2 separate regions of the Homo sapiens genome follow, and region 2 is linked to region 1. The links are contacts of gene promoters, found by promoter capture Hi-C in blood cells and fetal thymus (Javierre and others, 2016). All regions are on one chromosome and are shown on one strand. The core of a region is centred on a gene start or on the middle of the fragment in contact, and the rest is flanking DNA. Distances in the headings are between cores, read along the strand shown. Region 1 holds the start of MARVELD2 (MARVEL domain containing 2). Region 2 has its middle 35 kb from the start of MARVELD2.

Region 1 (7,491 bases), core at 3,207-5,706:
CCTAGTAATTTATAAACATAATTGTATTGTAGACCCTTCCTTTTCTTAAATATAACAGCATATCTTCACCCACTCCCAATGGACTATACCAGATTAAATGGAAGCATGGAATCACAAAGGCAGAGGAATCTTTAAAATCCTCCAACTCAACAAATCTAGAAACCCCTTGCCAGCTTTCCTGTTGAGAGATGTTCTTAGCCTATGCTTGAAGACCTGCAGTGACTAGGAACTGCCTCAGAAAGTAGAAGAGTCCTTCATATTTTCTTATTTTAGAAAATTTAAACAAGCAAAAAATAGATGTCTGTCTATATATATATATATATATATATATATATATACTGTTCATTTTATTGGAAAGTAGCTTCTGTGCCATTATCAGTGATTAACACAAAACTTATATTTCAGTTTGACTTAGCTTATTTGTAAGATCGAATTAAGCACTTAGGAATTGTTTAAAGATTTTAAAAATGGCCGGGCGTGGTGGCTTATGCTTGTAATCCCAGCACTTTGGGAGCCCGAGGCAGGTGGATCACCTGAGATAAGGAGTTCAAGACCAGCCTGGACAACATGGTGAAACCGTGTCTCTACTAAAAATACAAAATTTAGCTGGGTGTGGTGGCACATGCCTGTAATCCCAGCTACTCAGGAGGCTGAGGCAGGAGAATCGCTTCAACCCAGGAGGTGGAGGTTGCAGTGAGCCAAGATCACACCATTGCACCCCAGCCTGGGCAACAAAAGCAAAACTCCATCTCAAAAAAAAGATTTAAAAAAATCTTGCTTACTGAATGCATGGACAAAAGTAAGTGATAGAAATGGCACCTCTGACTCCTCCTACCTTTTCTCCTATTTCTGGTCCCAAATGGAAAACTCCTGTGATGTGAGCTTTTTCCCCCTCTTTACCCTCCAAGATTCATTAAGGCCTTTGTAGTGTTAATGTTTTTTTCTGTATACTGGCTTAGCTATGTGGGGCCCATCTTTCCTATCGCAGAAAGACCATGATGGATGGATCTTGAAGCATCGTCCCACTGGGATGTGATCAGGGCTTACACATTTCATAAACACTGCTTTTCTTCTCACATCCCTCTGAATGAAAGCAGGACCAAGTCTCTTTGATGGCTTCTCTCCCCAACCCCCTAAGATTATGGCATCAAAATAAAGACAAGTATGTTCTATTGTATTTTTGCTCCTGAGATGTATTGAGTTGCTGCAATTTACACAAGGCTAAATTGAATGAGAATCTTCACTATTTTATTATTGGTTCAACTACCTACTTGATGTGACTTGAGAGGCAGTATTTTCTTTTCTTTTTTTTTTGTAGACGGAGTCTAGCTTTATCGCCCAGGCTGGAGTGCAGTAGCACGATCTCGGCTCACTGCAAGCTCCACCTTCTGGGCTCACACCATTCTCCTGCCTCAGCCTGCCGAGTAGCTGGGACTACAGGCGCCCGCCACCACGCCCAGCTAATTTTTTGTATTTTTAGTAGAGACAGGGTTTCACTGTGTTAGCCAGGATGGTCTTGATCTCCTGACCTCGTGATCCGCCCACTTCGGCCTCCCAAAGTGCTGGGATTACAGGCGTGAGCCACCACGCCTGGCCACGAGAGGCAGTATTTTCAGTGCTATATATTACAATGACTGGTACTATCTTTTATTTATGTTGACCATATTTAAAACCATTGTTCATATGTTTAGTATTTAGTATTAAATATTAATACTTAATATTTAATAGGTGTTTAATTTCCTGTAATTCAACCTACACGTTATTTTTGCCCATTTAGCTTTTTTTCAGCTTTTACTATCCCAGCCTTATAGATAAGTCATCATGCACTTCAAATACTATTTACTTAGGGTGAATTCCTACAAATGAAATTGCTGGATCAATAGGTATATACCTTTTGGGGCTTTTCCTCTTTATTGCCAAATTGTTGGCAAGAATATTTTGCCAGTTTTGTATCCACTTACAGTGTATCAGTATGTTCTTTTCTCCTAACCCTTGCCACCACTGGGTTTTAAAAGTATCTTTGCCAGTTTAGAAGATGACAGTAATAGGCCAGGCGCAGTGGCTCATGCTTGTAATCCCAGCACTTTGGGAGGCTGAGGTGGGTGGATCATCTAAGGTCAGGAGTTCGAGACCAGCCTGGCCAACATGGTGAAACCCTATCTCTGCTAAAAATACAAAAACTAGCTGGGTGTGGTGGTGCCCGCGTGTAATCCCTGCTACTCCAGAGGCTGAGACAGGAGAATCGCTTGAACCTGAAGTGGAGGTTGCAGTGAGCCAAGATCGTGCTACTGCCCTGTAGCCTGGGTGACAGAGCAAGACTGTCTCAAAAAAAAAAAAAGATGACAGTAGTAGCTCATTATGTTAATTTTCATTTTTAAAATTACAAATTAGATTTAACAATTTAGGAACCATTTGTATTTGTTTTATAAGTTGTCCATGTTTGTGCCCATTTTTCTATTTCATTTTTTCCTTTTTAATTTGTAAAAATTCTTTACTGAAGGCTGGGTGTGGTGGCTCACACTTGTAATCCCCGCACTTTGGGAGGCGGAGGCAGATGGATCACCTGAGTTCGGGAGTTCAAGATTACCCTGGCCAACATGGTGAAACCCCATCTCTACTAAAAATACAAATTAGTTGGGCATGATGGCATGTGCCTGTAATCCCAGCTACTTGGGAGGCTGAGGCAGGAGAATCGCTTGAACCTGGGAGGCAGAGGTTGCAGTAAACTGAGATTGCACCACTGCACTCCTGCCTGGGCGATAGAGAAAGACAGTCTCAATGAAAAAAAAGAAAAAAGAAAAATTCTTTACTGAAGACATTATTTCTTTTTATTTTTAGGTGTTTTTGTTGTTGTGGTTTGGTTTGGTTTTTTTGTTTGTTTGTTTTTTGTTTGGAGACAGAGTCTTGCTCTGTCGTACAGGCTGGAGTTCAGTGGCACGAGCTTGGCTCACTGCAGCTTCTGCCTCCTGGGTTCAAACAATTCTCCTGCCTCAGCCTCCTGAGTAGCTGGGATTACAGATGCGTGCCACCACGCCTGGCTAATTTTTCTATTTTCAATAGAGATGGGTTTTTGCCATGTTGGCCAGGCTGGTCTTGAACTCCTGGCCTCAAGTGATCTGCCTGCCTTGGCCTCCCACAGTGCAGATAGTACAGGCATGAGCCATCGTGTTCAGCTCCTTTTTGTATTTTAAGTTGTAGGAACTTATTCAGTTTGTCATTTACCTTGTAGTTTTGTTTTTATAGTTAAAGGGACTAGCTAAACAGCACAATGTAGGTAAATGAAAGATGGCTTCATAATCATCACACTCATGGTGTAATTTAAAAATCTTCTCCTTTGGTTCTTATTAATGCCTGCACTGTGAATCTGACAGATTGAAAATGGAAGCCCTGACTGACAGGGAACATGGAATGATAGACCCTGACAGCGGAGATGAAGCCCAGCTTAATGGAGGACATTCTGCAGAGGAATCTCTGGGTGAACCCACTCAAGCCACTGTGCCGGAAACCTGGTCTCTTCCTTTGAGTCAGAATAGTGCCAGTGAACTGCCTGCTAGCCAGCCCCAGCCCTTTTCAGCCCAAGGAGACATGGAAGAAAACATAATAATAGAAGACTACGAGAGTGATGGGACATAGAAGCCAGCCTGCTAATCAGATTGCTACTTCACAGCTTCATTTTTGTTTCATTCAGTGGTACTTCAGCAGAGTTAATATGCTTTTCTGATGAATTACACAACAGTTTGTTAATTCTTCATTCTTGTAGTATTTCATCACAAGAAACCTACTCTTCTGTCATCTTGAAGTAAATAGAAGATCAAGCCTTCAAATCTCTTAATTTTTTCGGTATTTATTAAATCTGTGAGTGGTTTAAGGAGCGGTCAGTGTGTATAAAGTGTGTTTGAACATTATGCCAAATATCAAGATGTGAAGGACTAATTCAGGATGCAAAAACGTTATTGGGGGGTTGTAAATATCAACTATTCAACAGTTTAGGATGCAATTACGAGTGTAAACTGTGTGCCTTATTTACACTTTATTGTCTCCCGCTTCTCAGATAGTTTTGATGTGTTGTACAGTGGAATATCTTAGATACTTTTTGGAAAGTATTTACATAAGTTATATCACAATTAAAATGTTGAATTTAATTTTGTTTCTCCTGTCTTTTAACATTATCTAGCACGCACTCGCTGCCATGGGTCCTTAAGCACAGTGCACCAATCTCCCTCCCCCAGTGTCAAACTTTTCAAAAGATAGGGAAGAGGATGGCAACGTTGCGATGAGAACTGTAAACTCTTTCCAAAAGAGCCCAGTGTGTGGTCATTGCCGCGACGTGCCGGCTGGTGGCACCGAGCAGCCTGGGCCCAGAGCGGTTGTCGGGCCGACAGATCCGGGCGGGGCAAAGCCGGGCGGGGAAAGCTGGGCTCGTCCCGTCCCGGCCCCGCCCCCACCCCGGGAGCCCGATACCGGTTTCAGAGTCCTGGGCAGCGTGCGCGCTCTTCCTGGCGGCTGCGCAGGTAAGTGGGACCGGGGTGGGGCCACGTGACCGGGAGAGGAGGGCCCGGCGGCCCCCGGCCCAGGTGTGCTGCGACGGACGGCTGCCCGCGCTCGGCGCTCAGCCTGCCATAGCCCGCGGGGGAGGCCGGAGCCAGGGATCCGGGGAGGCCCGCGTCCCGCCAGGTTTCGCTCTGCGGACGCAGGTGCGGCCGAGCCGCCGTCCTTCCGGGCGCGGGGCGGGGCGCGCACCTCGGGGCGATCTCGGTGCTCCTTACCTGGGAGGTCTCCCGGCTTAGTTTCGGCCTCGTTGGGTCGGAATCTCCAAAGACAGTGGGTTTCAGCCAGAAACGCGAAGACGAACGCCTAGCCGGCGCGGGCAGAACCGAGGACACAATGAGATTTGTGGGACCGGGCGCCCAGAGGCTGGCGCGGGGGAGACCCCACAGCTAAAATGCTCGGTACCCCCGGGCAGTCGTGGGTTAGTTAGAACCGCAGAGCCTTTCCCGACCCCTCGGAAGCGCAGAAGTATCCGAAATCTACCCGTTTCTTGGGTCCAGCAAAACTTTTAAGCCAGGTAAACCGGTGGTTCTGTTTGTGTAAAGGTGACCAGGCATGATTCCTGTGACACTTTGCTGGGGCAGCCATTTCTCCTGCCATTGCCGCGGCTTTCCAAGATGAGTGTCCAAGAGTGGAGTAAGGGTCCGGGGCCTGAGCAGGACAAAGACACACGCTGCCGCGACCTGCGGGACCAGAACGAACTCTCAGTGACATCTTGAAAGACATTAGGGGTATCCAGATATTTAAGATGTAATGAAATACAGCTAACCATTCCCTTCTAAAAATCACATTATCTTGCTTTTCCACAACTCTTTAATAATTGCTTGTTTTTTCTTTAAAAATGGATAGGGTGGTTTGATTCAAATAAGCCACTTCACAGGTGAAGAGTTAAATCCATTACAGTGAATCGTATTTTTACCAGTGAGTTGAATTAAGCATAGCGTATCCTGTAAATGCTGTGTAAAACTTGCTAAAATCATTTGTTGTGCTTTTGCTTCTACATTTCTTAGGAATGTGTTTCAAAAACTAGAGTCGTAATAGCATTTCTAGAACTTACACTTTTTTAGAGAAAGAAAGAGAAAGGTACAAAAATAACTGATTGTTATAATATACAGAGCCGCTTTGCATTGGGCACCCTGCTGGGGCCATCACAGTTAATCCTCTAAGGTCGGAGTGCCCTATTAGAAGACCCTGGGTTTCCACCGCATTCCCTTGTCTCCAGTCTGTACATACCCTGTGTGCCTTGCTTGCCCTCTTAACGTCTCTACCTGGATTTTTAACGCATCTGAAACACTCTTCAGTCTGCTGCTCCCCAAGGCTAAGCTGGAGGGGTGGAGAATGAGGTATAGATAGATAAAATGATCAGATGTCTGGGGTTTACTTCAGAGGACTCTATTGGCAGAGGAAATAGTATGGGGAGTATAAATGAAACAAGTTTGGCCATAAATCGATAAGTGTAGAAGCTGGATGTGGGTACACAAGGGTTCATAATGCTATTCTTTCTACTTTTTATTATGTTTGAAAAATTCTATAATAAAAATTTTAAATACCTGTCTAGCATTTGACCTCTTCTCAAGATCTCAGTGATCCATTGGATTATTTCAATGGCCTAGCCAGTCTTCCTGTTTTACCTCTTGCCTTCTGGAGTGTACTCTCAACACAGCATCCATAGTGATACTGTTAAAACAAGTCAAGTCATGTCACTCCTCTATTCAGAATCCTCCAGTGGCTTCTCATCTCACTCCTAGCAAAAGACAAAGTCCTTTCTTTCCAGTGGTTTTCAAGGCCCTACATGATTCAGATGGCCTCAGTTCTACTATTCACCTTCTTACCCACTTTGCTGCTGCCACAGTAGCTTCCATGCCTAAATATTTCTTGAACATACCAGGCACTCCTGCTTCAGGGCATTTGCGCTAGCTATTCCATCTGCCTGAACACTTGTCCCTGATAATGGCCTGGCTTCCTCCTTCACCTTCAGTTCTATACTCAGATATCCCTTTCTCTGTGAAGATTTCCCTGCCCACTCGGTTTAAGATGGTAACATCCTGTCCCCATTGCAGTCTTTACCCCCTTTCTCAACTTTGTTCTTTAGCATACTGTATATTTCATTTATCTATCATCTGTCAATCTGCCCGGCACTCCCCCGGTTAAAGCATCATGAAGGCAAGGATTTCAGTCTGGTTTGTCCACCAGTATACTTTCAGCATGCCTGGTGCAAGGCAGGTTAAATGAAGGGTCTTCGTTTTCCAAAGTAAAATAAAATAAAGCCTTAGGAATTTCCAAATTGTTCAACAGTATAAAGATGGGGTTATCAGACCAGGTGCAGTGGCTAACGCTTGTAATCCCAGCACTTTGGGTGGCCAAGGCAGGAGGATCGCTTGAGCCCAGGAGTTCAAGACCAGCCTAGGCAACATAGTGATACTTAATGTCTACTAAAAATTTTAAAGAATTAGCGGCCGAGCGTGGTGGCTCACACCTGTAATCCCAGCACTTTGGGAGGCCGAGGCGGGTGGATTATGAGGTCAGGAGATCAAGATCATCCCGGCTAACATGGTCCCCATCTCTACTAAAAATACAAAAAATTAGCCGGGCGTGGTGGCGAGCACCTGTAGTCCCAGCTACTTGGGAGGCTGAGGCAGGAGAATGGCATGAACCTGGGAGGCGGAGCTTGCAGTGAGCCGAGATGGCACCACTGCACTCCAGCCTGGGCAACAGATTGAGACTCTGTCTCAAAAAAAAAAAAAAAAAGAATTAGCTGGGTATGGTGGCATGCACCTGTAGTCCCAGCTACTCAGGAGGCTGAGGCAGCTGGAGTGCTTGAGCCAGGGAGATTGAGGCTGCAGTGAGCTATGATTGTGCTCCTATGCTCTGGCCTGGGAAACAGAGTGAGACCCTGTCTTAAAAATATTAAATAAATAAAACAATAACAAAAAAGATGGGGTT
Region 2 (7,491 bases), core at 3,453-5,952, 36 kb after region 1:
GTAAAATCACTTTAAAATTGTCTACTTTAATGCTTTCAATGGGTTTCTTTTTTGGGATTGTTGTTGTTGTTTTGATATGGAGTCTTGCTCTGTTGCCCAGGCTGGAGTGTAGTGGTGCTACCTCCGCTCACCACAACCACCACCTCCTGGGTTCAAGCAATTCTCCTGCCTCCGCCTCCTGAGTAGCTGGGATTACAGGCGCACACCACCATGCCCAGCTAATTTTTGTATTTTTAGTAGAGACAGGGTTTCACCATGCTGGCCAGGCTGGTCTTGAACCCCTGACCTCAAGTGATCTACCTGCCTTGGCCTCCCAAAGTGCTGGGATTACAGGCATGAGCCACCATGCCCGGCTGCTTTCAATGGGTTTTTAAAGGAGAGTATGACAGACCTGCTCGAGCATGTAATAGACTACTTGTCCTATAATAGACAAACTGGGGATAGGCAGAAGGCAGGAGGGATGGTTTAGCCCCGCAGAAGGCGAAGAAGGTGAACTTCTGAGCTCATCACAACCAAGACTCCATTTCTTACTATGTGGCCTTGACAAATTAACATCTCCAACCATCAGCCTCCTTAACTGTGATGTGGCGATAATACCACCTGACGAAATTGTTGTGAAAATTAAATAATGTAAAACACCACGAAGATACTTGCTCAATAACTGGTGGCTAGATACTCAAAATATACTTTTCATTGTGTTAAATAATAAGGTGGCTATAGACTATCAAAATGACTTCTTTTGAATAATAAAAGTTATAAAAAGCTTTTTTAAAAAGTATATAGGTAATATATTTATTATAGAAAATTGATTAGGTCAGGGGTGGTGGCTCATGCCAGTAACCCCAGCCCTTTAGGAGGCTGATGTGGGTGGATCACTTGAAGCCAGGAGTTTGAGAACAGCCTGGCCAACATGGCAAAAACCCTTCTCTGCTGAAAATACAAAAATTAGCTGGGCGTGTTGTCGCACACTGTAGTCCCTGGAGGTAGTCCCGGGAGGCTGAGGCACGAGAACCGCTTGAACCTCAGAGGTGGAGGTTGCAGTGAGCTGAGATCGTGCCACTGCACCCCAGCCTGGGCGACAGAGCAAGACTCTGTCTCAGAAAAAAAAAAAAAAAAGTACAAAAATTAGCCTGGTGTGGTGGTGCACGCCTGTAATCTCAGCTACTCGAGAGGTTGAGGCATGAGAATTGCTTGACCCCAGGAGGTGGAGGTTGCAGTTAGCTGAGACCATGCCACTGCACTGCAGCCTGGGTGACAGAGTAAGACTCTGCAGAAGGAAGGGAAGGGAAGGGAGGGGAGGGGAGGGGAGGGGAGGGGAGGGGGAAAGAGAAAGAAGAAAGAGAAAGAAGGAAGGAGAGAAAGAGAGAGGAAGGGAGGGAGGGAGGGAAAGAGAAAAGAAAGAGAAAGAAGAAAAGAAAGAAGAAAGAAAAAGAAGAAAAGAAGGAAGGAAGGGAAGAGAGAGAGAGAGAAAGGAAGGAAGGAAGGAAAGAAAGAAGAGAGGCCAGGTGCGGTGACTCACGCCTGTAATCCCAGTACTTTGGGAGGCTGAGGCAGGCGGATCAAGAGGTCAGGAGATCGAGACTGTTCTGGCTAACATGGTGAAACCGCGTCTCCACTAAAAATACAAAAAATTTAGCTGGGCTTGGTTGCGGGCACTTGTAGTCCCAGCTACTCGGGAGGCTGAGGCAGGAGAATGGCGTGAACCCGGGAGGCGGAGCTTGTAGTGAGCCGAGATCGCGCCACCACACTTCAACCTGGGCAACAGAGCAAGACTCAGTCTCGGAAAAAAAAAAAAAAAAAGAAAGTTATTTTGAAACTCCAACCTCTGATGATAGAATTCAGAATAGGGGTTACCTGTGAGAGAGGTTTATTGGCTGGGAAGGAGCATGAGGGAGCTTTCTGGGTACTATACCTTCATCTGGTTCGTTGCTTACCAGGATATATACATATTTAAAAATCCATCAAGCTAAGCATTTAAAATTGGTGCCTTTTACTGTACATATATTATACATGTATTTTACCTCAATTTTTTTTCTTTTTTAAGACGGAGTCTCTCTCTGTTGCCCAGGCTGGAGTGCAGTGGCGCAATCTCGCCTCACTGCAACCTCCACCTCCAGAGTTCAAGTGACTCTCCTGCCTCAGCCTCCCGAGTAGGTGGGATCACAGGTGTGAGCCACCACGCCCAGCTAATTTTTGTATTTTTAGTAGTGACGGGGTTTCACCATGTTGGTCAGGCTGATCTCGAATTCCTAGCCTCAAGTGATCCACCCACCTCGGCCTCCCAAAGTGCTGGGATTACAAGTGTGAACCACTGCGCCTGGACAGGGTCTTGCTCTGTCTCCCAAGCTGGAGTGCAGTGATGTGATCTCAACTCACTGCAACCTCTGCTTTCCAGGCTCAAGCAGCCCTCCAGCCTCAGACTCCGGAGCAGCTGGGCAGCTGGGACCACAGGAGCAAGCTACCACGCCCAGCTAATTTTTTTTTTTAAGAGATGGGGTTTCCATGTTGCCCAGGCTGGTATATCTCAAATTTTTTTTTTTTTTTTGAGACGGAGTTTTGCACTGTTGCCAGGGCTGGAGTGCAATGGTACGATCTCAGTTCACTACAACCTCTGCCTCCCAGGTTCAAGCGATTCTCCTGCCTCAGCCTCCCGAGTAGCTGGGATTACAGGCGCCTGCCACCATGCCCGGCTAATTTTTTGTATTTTTAGTAGAGACGGGGTTTCACTATGTTGGCCAGGCTGGTCTCGAAGTCCTGACCTCCAGATCTGCCCGCCTTGGCCTCCCAAGTGCTGGGATTACAGGCGTGAGCCACCGTGCTTGGCCCTCAATTTCTAACAATTATACTGTATACATGTTTGAACAAAAGTATGTTCACAGTTTTTTTTTAAGTAATGTTGTTGTTGTTGTTGTTGTTGTTTTGAGACACTGTCTCACTCCCTCGCCTGGGCTGGAGTGCAGTAGTGTGATCTCGGCCCACTGCAACCTCTGCCTCCTGCGTTCAAGTGATTCTCCTGCCTCAGCCTCCTGAGTAGCTGAGATTACAGGTGTGAGCCACCACACCTGGATAATTTTTGTATTTTTAGTAGAGATGAGGTTTCACCATGTTGGCCAGGCTGTTGTCGAACTCCTGACCTCAGGTCATCCACTCACCTCAGCCTCCCAAAGTGCTGGGATTACAGGCGTGAGCCACCGCGCCTGGCCAAAAAAATGTAAATTTAAGAATACAATGCTTTCATAAATTGGGAACTGCCTGTAGTGTTCTAGTGATCTTTGGAAAACATTTACAAAGTTCTGGAGAAACAAAAATCTTACAACTATTGGCTTCATGAGCCATATTTGAAACCCAAGCCTGTGTGTGTGTGTGTGTGTGTGTGTGTGTGTGTGTGTGTATGACTTGAAGCCAAACCCCACATCTAAGATGGTAGATATAACCATTTCGTCCCCTTTTCCCCTATGAGTGGTTCTAAAACAAAAAGTCTGCAAGTGAATGGGCCTGATTTATACCTGTTTAAATGCTTTTATTCAACATAATTGCATTCATGCCTATGAATTCCCTTTGTGTATAGGGCAGGAGGCTGAAGGATGTATGACACGTGGGGAAAATGCTGTTAGTTAATGTGTGAACAATAGTAGCCCTTCCCAATTTAAATCTTGTTTGTGACCAGTAAGCCTGCCAGTGTTAATATTCAAGGGTACTCTGCGGATTGCTATTGCTGAAGGGCAAAGCCAAGTTAAAAGACAAAGTTACTCAGAACTAGCTTCCCAAGTATTTGGAAGGTGCCTGCCATGTGATATAGCTGCCCAGATGCAGCAATGTGGTGAAAACAGTCGGCCACTGTTCTTAGAGTTTATAGTGATATCCAGGATTTTCTTAGAAACCCTCAGGGTTGGCCGGGCGCGGTAGCTCACGCCTGCAATCCGAGCACTTTGGGAGGCCGAGGTGGGCAGATCACAAGGTCAGCAGATCGAGACCATCCTGGCTAACACAGTGAAACCCCGTCTCTACTGAAAATACAAAAAAAAAAATAAAAATTAGCCAGGCGTGGTGGCAGGCGCCTGTAGTCCCAGCTACTCAGGAGGCTGAGGCAGTAGAATGGCGTGAACCCAGGAGGTGGAACTTGCAGTGAGCCGAGATCGCGCCACTGCACTCCAGCCTGGGTGACAGAGCAAAACTCCATCTCAGAAAAAAAAAAAAAAAAAAGAAAGAAACCCTCAGGGCTAAGGGTTTGAAATTAGAGAATATGAGAGATTACATACTGTAAGAACAACATTATGGTAGGTGTTTGATGTCAATGTGCCAAATGTCCATGAGTAACTCATGAGTCAATTTCAGAGAGTCACTGTTTCCCTACAGTTCCTTGATTTCTGCCTATTCTCAAGAGGAGAAATTGGTACTGAATGACTGTACTGTAGAAATTCCTCTTCCTCTTTGTGACATTCCCACCAGCAATGCATGCGGGTTTCAATTTCTCCACATCCTTGCCAACACTTGTTATTTTCTCTTTCTCTCTTTTAATAAATAGCCATACTGCCAGGCACAGTGGCTCACACCTGTAATCCCAACACTTTGGGAGGCCGAGGTACGCGGATCACTTGAGGTCAGGAGTTTGACACCAGCCTGGCCAACACGGTGAAACCTCGTCTCTACTAAAAATACTAAATTAGCTGGGCATGGTGGTGCATGCCTGTAATCCCAGCTACTCAGGAGGCTGAGGCAGGAGAATCACTTGAACCTGGGAGGCAAAGGTTGCAGTGAGCCTAGATTGCGCCACAGCACTTCAGCCTGGGCGACAGAGCAAGACTGTCTCAATAAATAAATAAATAAATAGCCATCCTAATAGATGTGAAGTGGTATCTCATTATGGTTTGAATTTCCTTAATGATTAGTGATGTTCAGCATTTTTTTCACGTACTTACTGGCCATGTGTACATCTTCCTTGAAAAATGGCCATTCAAATCCATTGCCCTTTTTTTTTTTTTTGAGGTGGAGCCTCACTCTGTCACCCAGGCTGGAGTGCAGTGGCACGATCTCGGCTCACTGCAACCTCCGCCTCCCGGGTTCAAATGATTTTCCTGCCTCAGCCTCCTGAGTAGCTGGGCCTACAGGTGTGTGCCACGATGCCCGGCTAATTTTTTTGTATTTTTGGTAGAGATGGGGTTTCACCGTGTTAGCCAGGATGGTCTCGATCTCCTGACCTCGTGATCCACCCGCCTCGGCCTCCCAAAGTGCTGTGATTTATAGGCGTGAGCCACCATGCCCGGCTGGTCATTGCCCATTTTTAAATTGGGTTGTGGTCGTTTTGTTGTTCAGTTGTAGGAGTTCTTTATATATTTTGAATTTGATTTAGTTTTGAACTTGGCTAAATCCATCTGTTTGTTCATCAGAAGAGTTGTAAAAATATATGCCAGAAAATAATCTCAGCTAAATTATCTTTGGATACAAAAATAATATAATCTGATAGGGGGCTTAATGATGGTGGAGTTTAGGTCAACAGATGTTACTGTTGGACTGCTGGTTGGGCTGGCCAGATAAGTATAGTAGGTCACAAAAAAATTAAAAGTATAGAAGTCAAGCAACAAGGCCAAGACTCCTTTGAGACCTGCAGCTGTGTTTTCTGGGTACCCAGTACCCAAGCCTTGTGCTTGGTACTTGTCCTCTGTACTCCAAACCTGGGTGTCCATAAATTGGGTAGAAAATGGCAGAAACAGCTGGGCGCAGTGGCTCATGCCTGTAATCCCAGCACTTTGGGAGGCCGAGGTGGATGGATCACCTGAAGTCAGGAGTTAGAGACCAGCGTGACCAACATGGGTTTCACCATGTTGGTCACGCTGGTCTCAACTAAAAATACAAAAATTCGCTGGGTGTGGTGGCAGATGCCTGTAATCCCACCTACTCGGGAGGCTGAAATAGGAGAATCGCTTGAACCTGGGAGGCAGAGGTTGCAGTGAGCCAAGATCATGCCACTGCACTCCAGCCTGAGAGACAGAGTGAGACTCCATCTCAAGAAAAAAAAAGAAAGAGAGAGAGAGAAAAAAAGAAAGGAAGGAAGGAAGGAAGGAAGGAAGGAAGGAAGGAAGGAAGGAAGGGGAAGGTAAGGGAAAGAAGGAAGGAAGGAAGAAAGAAAATGGAAGAGACAGGTTTCACACGTGTTTTTGGTTTGTAGCAGTGGGTAGGGAGTGCTTCAGTTAATCATTCACAGATCCTCTAGGTCAAAAGATTCTGAAGAAAATAGAACACATACTTGGTGAAACTGTTGTGGGACATGTGAATGAAATTAGGAATATATGATGGGAGAGCTCATTCAGAGAACTGGGAGAATGGGGATTCAGGTATAAATATTGAGTAAGAAAATAGGAAAGTAGTTATCAGAAACAAATACTTGGGACAACGGTATTAAAATTATTATAAAACAAACCTCCTGATTATACTTTCCATCTCCAGAGCTGGTTTCGGTATCACTATTTTACAGGAATATTACACCTGGCAGAGTTAAGAGGCAATCTAAATATTTACTTTCATGCTGCAACCTTTGCCCTGTTTGCAGTCTAGTTTCCCTGAGCTTTTAGAAGATAAGATACAAGCATTTGAATTTTGAGATAGTTTCATAAATATCGCAAATAACTGAAGCACCATGCTAACAAAACCTGACCTTTTCAAAACAGCAACACAAAGATTGGTTATATCTAATGTTATAGAAAATTATTTTTATCTAGTTATCTCATTATAATAATTCAACATATATTCCGAATAAGAGGAAGGAAAACTACTTAAAATTTTACCAAAATAAATCAGTTAATAAGCCTTTTAGCTTTTTTTCTTTTTCTTTCTTTCCTTGTTTTTGTTTGTTTGTTTTTGTTTGTGGCTATTTCAACTCCAGATAAGCCCTTTAAATAAAATAATAAACACTTTCGGAGGCTGAGGTGGGAGGATCACTTGAGCCTAGAAGTTTGAGACTAGCCTGGGCAACATGGCAAGACCCATCTCTAAAAAAAAAAAAATCATTAAGGCCGGGCCTGGTGGCTCACACCTGTAATCCCAGCACTTTGGGAGGCTGAGGCGGGTGGATCACGAGGTCAGGAGATCGAGACCATCCTGGCTAACACGGTGAAACCCCATCTCTACTAAAAAAAACAAAAACAAAATTAGCCAGACGTGGTGGCGGGCGCCTGTAGTCCCAGCTCCTTGAGAGGCTGAGGTGGCAGAATGGTGTGAACCCGGGAAGTGGAGCTTGCAGTGAGCCAACATTGCACCACTGCACTCCAGCCTGGGCGACAGAGCAAGACTTCCTCTAAAAAAAAAAAAAAAATCATTAAAAATAAGCTGGGTGTGGTGGCGCACGCCTGTGAGCCCAGCTACTGGGGAGACTGAGGCAGGAGGACCACTTGAGCCCAGGAGGTCCAGGGTGCAGTGAGCCGTGTTCATGCCACTGTACTCCACCCTGGGTGACAGAGGGAGACCCTGTCTCAAAAAAAAAAAAAACCAGAAAGA

Evidence for each region. The method cuts DNA at HindIII sites, captures the fragments that hold promoters and counts their contacts. A CHiCAGO score of 5 or more calls a contact.
Region 2: a fragment that was not itself captured here is called in contact with the fragment with the promoter of MARVELD2 in region 1 in 1 of 17 cell types (erythroblasts); the score reaches 6.2 in erythroblasts.

Annotation. Positions count from the first base shown.
Region 1 is chr5:69,410,660-69,418,150 of GRCh38, forward strand. MARVELD2 (MARVEL domain containing 2) reads left to right here and starts at 4,457. Exons shown (of 7, transcript NM_001038603.3): 1 at 4,457-4,511. RAD17 (RAD17 checkpoint clamp loader component) reads left to right here. Exons shown (of 19, transcript NM_133338.3): 19 at 3,372-4,142. The coding sequence ends at 3,633. RefSeq lists enhancers at 4,234-5,117, 5,118-6,000. The HindIII fragment of the contact is 19,290 bases long and covers 1-7,491 here.
Region 2 is chr5:69,445,974-69,453,464 of GRCh38, forward strand. No RefSeq gene overlaps it. Among named protein-coding and RNA genes, the nearest start is that of MARVELD2, 35 kb to the left of the region's middle. The HindIII fragment of the contact is 7,883 bases long and covers 762-7,491 here.